2 separate regions of the Homo sapiens genome follow, and region 1 is linked to region 2. The links are contacts of gene promoters, found by promoter capture Hi-C in blood cells and fetal thymus (Javierre and others, 2016). All regions are on one chromosome and are shown on one strand. Each heading gives the region's core, a stretch centred on a gene start or on the middle of the fragment in contact. The rest is flanking DNA. Distances are from core to core; before and after follow the strand shown. Region 1 overlaps RNF115 (ring finger protein 115). Region 2 holds the start of HJV (hemojuvelin BMP co-receptor).

What was found. Contacts are between HindIII fragments. The CHiCAGO score rates a contact against its expected background, and 5 or more counts as called.
Region 1: a fragment that was not itself captured here is called in contact with the fragment with the promoter of HJV in region 2 in 1 of 17 cell types (activated CD4 T cells); the score reaches 5.2 in activated CD4 T cells.

Annotation. Positions count from the first base shown.
Region 1 is chr1:145,809,703-145,812,402 of GRCh38, forward strand. The region is part of intron 1 of RNF115 (ring finger protein 115); the gene reads right to left. Among named protein-coding and RNA genes, the nearest start is that of RNF115, 13 kb to the right of the region's middle. The HindIII fragment of the contact is 4,239 bases long and covers 1-2,700 here.
Region 2 is chr1:146,020,400-146,023,099 of GRCh38, forward strand. HJV (hemojuvelin BMP co-receptor) reads right to left here and starts at 1,336. Exons shown (of 4, transcript NM_213653.4): 1 at 1,188-1,336. The HindIII fragment of the contact is 1,771 bases long and covers 1,155-2,700 here.

The sequences.
Region 1 (2,700 bases), core at 94-2,593, 210 kb before region 2:
AGGTTGGTCTTGAACTCCTGACCTCGAGTGATCTGCCTGCCTCGGCCTCCCAAAGTGCTGGGATTACAGGCATGAGCCACTGCACCCAGCCTGTTTTCAAGGTTTTTATGAACACTGGTACCTCCATCATTTTCAACAGGTACAAAAAGCAGAAAGTGGCAAGAAGAAAAAGCCTACAGTTAAGTTTCCTTCATTCAACAAATACTAATTGAGTATCTACTATGTACCAAGGCACTGTCCTAACACTTATGGAAAAGAAAACATCAATAATAAGAGTGGTGAGGAAATAAGAAATTTAAAGACATATAGGAATTGTCTAAAGGCCAAGTAAATCTTTGTCTTTTAGACTAAAAGGCTGTGCTAAAGTAGTGAATAATAAGCAAGAAAAAAAAAAGAAGAGTGAATGATAAAACAGAAAAATGTTTTCCTGTATGACTAGAGGTCATTCTTAATGAGGACAACACAATCATCTAGGGGATAGTTGGGACATCTATGGAAGTGCTTTGGTTGTCACAGCAGTTAAGAAGTGCTTCTCACTATTCACAATAGCAAAGACATGGAATAAACCCAAATGCCCATCAGTGAGAGACTAGATAAAGAAAATGTGGTACATATACACCATGGAATACCATTCAGCCATAAAAAGGACGAGTGATTACTTTGCAGGGATGTGGATGGAGCTGGAAGCCGTTATCCTCAGCAAACTAACATAGGAACAGAAAACCACACATCACACGTTCTCATTTGTAAGTAGGGGCTAAATGAGGAGGACACATGGTGGGGAACAACACACACTGGGGCCTGTTGAGGGAGCCTCAGGAAGAATATCTAATGGATGCTGGGCTTAATAGCTACGTGATGAGTTGATCTGTGCAGCCAACCACCATGGCACAGGTTTGCCTACATAACAAAACCTGCACATCCTGCACATGTGCCCCGGGACTTAAAATAAAAGTTGCAGAAAAAAAAAAAAGTGTTACTGACATTCAATTGGCAGAGGCCAGGAAAGCATAGGCAAGTCCAGCACAAAGAAAAAATGTCTTTATTCTCAAACTTCCTTATGAATAGTTAACTGGATTTTTAAAATCTGTATAATTACCAAAGCCTAGAACCTAATTACATTCTACGTATAAGCACCAAGTCCTTCTGCATAATTTTATTTATTTATTTATTTTTTTTTTGAGACAGGGTCTCACTCTGTCACCCAGGCTGGAGTGCAGCGGTGTGATCACGGTTCACTACAGCCTTGACCTCTTGGGCTCAGGTAATCCTCCCACCTCAGCCTCCCAGGTAGCTGGGACTTCAGGCACGTGCCACCAAGCCCGGCTAATTTTTAAAAAAATTTTTTGTAGAGACAGGGTTTTACCATGTTGCCCAGGCTGGTCTCCAACTCCTGGGCTCAAGTGATCCAACCGCCTTGGTATCCCAAAGTGCTGGGATTACAGGCGTAAGCCACCGTGCCCAGTCCATAATTTTAATATGCACTAAATGTCCAGAAAAGCAACTGCTGAATAAAGTAAGAGAAAACTGTACTTTGGGGCAGATGCAGTGGCTCACGTTTGTAATCTCAGCACTTTGGGAGGCCAAGGAGGAGGACAGCTTGAGCCTAACTCAAAACCAGCCTGGGCAACTAAGTGAGACCCCATCACTACCAAAAAAAAAAAAAAAAAAAAGAAAAAAGAAGAAGAAGAAAGAAGTTGTACTTGAGTTTTATTTGTACATTTGCAAAGAATTGTTCACTGTACTGGTTTGCTTCTCCTGGTATTTAAGTTGCAAATACCCTTATAGCAGTCTACTCAGGTAGCTGTCATGTCAAGCTAATCTGTCAGAAATATTTTCTATTTATCCTTTATCTTACTGCAAGATAATTTTTTTAATTATATATGTAGGGCCGGGTGTGGTGGCTCACGCCTATAACCCCAGCACTTTGGGAGGCCGAGGTGGGCGCACTTGAGGCCAGGAGTTCGAGACCAGCCTGGCCAACATGGTGAAACCCTGTCTCTACAAAGAATAAATAATAATACAAAAAAATTAGCCAGGTGTGGTGATGCACGCTTGTAATCTCAGCTACTTGGAAGGCTGAGGCACGAGCATCGCTTGAAGCACCCAGGAGGCAGAGGATACAGTGAGCCAAGATCACGCCACTGCACTGCAGCCTGGTTGACAGAGATTCTGTCTCACAAAAAAAAAAAAAAAAAAAAAAAAAATATATATATATATATATATATATACACACACACACATATATGTAGAAAAGCTGTATTACCTGTGGATTTCATTTCACTAAAGAGAGTATTTCAAAATACTTATAAGAAGAGGGCACTGAATCTGAGAGGTCTGAGAATTAACGGGCTAGAAGATCAGCATCACTGTAGGATACCTGCAGGTCTCAGTTAATCCAGCAAAAGGTAAGAAAGAGCATGTAACTATAATTGTTTTTTCTTTTGAGAATGTAAATTCTAAGCATGGTGAAAGGTAAGCAAAATGAAACTTCTGGAAGATGGTACTATGGGTTAAAAGTCTATTCAAATCTGTACAACATCAAAGTGAGTGGCAAGGAGGTAAACATTACCTTGTCTACTAAGAAGTTTCCTGTGACACTTGTTCAAATTATCAAGGAGAGAGATTAATCTGTCTTAACAGATTTTCAAGGAAGACAAAACTAACTGGTCTGGCCAGGCGTGGTGGCTAACACCTGTA
Region 2 (2,700 bases), core at 86-2,585:
AGATCAAGAAAAGGATGAACAGACTGGAATTTGGGGAGATTGGAGTTCCTCAAACTATAAGTGTGGCAGTTAAGCCTCTTTGCCCTGTTCCTGTGGCCACTTTTAGGGCCCTTGTGCAATACCCCTAGGTGGGGGTGGAGGGAAGGTTGAGTGAACTCAAGGGGGCAGAGTCCACTGTATTGCTCCATTCTGAGCTACCAAACAGCAGGTATGTCAAAGATGGAGGAATCATGGGGCTAGATCAGATACCAGTAATCCTAGTGGGTACCCTAGTAAAATTAGGACCTGAAAATATTTCAGAAACATACTTCTTATTTGTCCCTCTCCATTAGGAGGAGATGCCCTCTAGGAGTCATACATTTCTTTTCCTCCTTTGTGTCAGAACACAAGAAGGATTAAGGGTGGCATACCCATCCCGTCTAGAATATCAGTATTCAAATGAAAAGGAAACCAATCTCTTTTCATCAGCTCTAGAGAGCTGCAATTTTAATCTCCCTCTCTCATGGAATAATGGGATGCAAACCAAACATGCAAATCAATATTTGTTTTTTCTAAGTCAACAGTTCTTGTATTTTCCCAAATATCACTCCTTCCATTAATCTCTTCTTTTCAAATTCTGAAGTTCTCAGTCTTTTATGATGACAGGAGTTGGAGAGGGGCTAAATCCCTCCTGCCTAACTCCCCTATCTTATGGGTAAGGATATGATTGGGGGAAGAGTCCTGCAAGAGGGAGAATAGAATGGAGGGACTAGAGTTGTGGGGAGAAATCATTTACAGGGAGCAGCCCCCATGCTTGGAATCTCAATGTGAAGGGCATTGCTAAGTGGGGGCAGGATAGAAGGGTATCAGTGACTCATCATCTGAGGTCATATTTGGCCTTGGTAAGAAAACTACAGAATAGAGGACGTAGGGAACTCCTTCTAAAACTTCATCAGGAGTCTTGAGGTAATAAGGTAAAGAGAGGGCTAAGACTGCCAGAGGAGAGACAGAGAATTAAACTTCAAAAAGCTAGAGGCCAGAGGCCAGAAAGAAATAAGACAGAAAGAGAAATGGAGATTGGGGCACCTTGGTAGGGAGAGATCCCAGCATTTGGACGAGAGACATCCAAGTAGGTGTTTGTAATTTTATAAAAGTCTAACTTCAATATAAAAGCTTATTAAAGGAATTGCAATTTCATTTTGACTTACTGTTTCCAGAGGTCAAACATTACTCTGCTATCCAATTCTCCAGCCATGATTCCCTACTCTGTGGGTCAGCTCCAGCCAGGGGGTCCTCCGTGTCTCCCCCAGGTCCCCAGGCCGGCTGCTGTCTCACTGAGGTCAGGGAACCAGAGAAGGTTTGGTATGGGGGGAAGGGGGAGTATATGGCTGGCCAGAGTACTGGACAGCTGAGCAGGGAGGGAGGTGGCTACTGAGTTGACGGTTTTAAAAATAGCTAAGTCCAAAATTCCAGGAACGTTGGTGGGGGTAGGGTGTGGGAGTTGGGGGAGTGGGGAGGGTTAGAGGATTAGAAAGAATATGGAGTATTGAGTGCCAAGTCAGGGAGGGAGGAGAGAAATATGACAGACAAGTTGGATATCCAATTCCAGCTTGTGTGACTCTGTGGTCACTGCCTACTCCAGGCAGCCCTCCAGCATTTTCAATAATGTTGAGCTCCTGGCCTTTAAAAATTACAGTGGGCAATTGGATACCTTTCATTTACCATGTTCATCCCTGCTATGCTGAATATTACATTTAGGTTCTACAGATAGTATCTAGGAGGTAGCTGACTTTGAATAAGATCCATAGCAGAGGTAGTTCATAGCCCCTCTCCTATCTTTGCAGAGTATTTCAGAAGGACGAAAAAAGCCAGCTGTCCAGAGAAGAAATCTGAGCTGTGAGTTGCTTAGGATGAGGGTTTGTTCAGTCTATCCAGCTCAGATCCTTGCAGCTGTCTATCCTCCTACCTACTCCATTTTCATTACTTTAGTTTGTACAGCAATTCATCTTCCTCTCCCTCATGAATACACAAAAAATAAAGGCTCCCGATTTGCTTGGAGAGAAGGCTAACAAAGGCAAAGAGGTGAAGAAAGAATGGAAATAGAATTCTTCTAAAGAAAGAGTTGGAGAAATAGAAAAAGATTCAAAAATATACTTTTCCTTCCTTCCTTCCTTCCTTCCTTCCTTCCTTCCTTCCTTCCTTCACTCCCTCCCTCCCTCCCTCCCTCCTTCCTTCCTTCCTTCCGAGATGAGGTCTCACTATGTTGACCAGGCTGGTCTTGAACTCCTTGCCTCAATGAATCCTTCCATCTCAGCCTCTCAGAGTGCTGGGATTACAAGTGTGAACCAACATGCCTAGCCTCAGAAAGATACTTTTATGGAATAACATAATCTTGTGACCATAAATATTGCAAAATCTCAGCACTTTGGGAGCTGAGGCAGGAGGGTCACTTGAGCGCAGGAGTTTGAGGCTGCAGTGAGCTATGATAACGCCATTGCACTCCAGCCTGGGCAACAGTGAGACCCGCCCCCCCACCCCCCTTAAAAAAGAAAAGAGATACTGCAACCAAGGGATTTAGCCATGTCATGTTTTTGCAGCCATAGGTATATCTGAGATCATCATCTTTTAGTACTTGCCAAGTGAAATTAACAGAAGGACCGATTCCAAATACGGTCACTGTATTAGGGTTCTCTAGAGGAACAGAACTAATAGGGCATATAT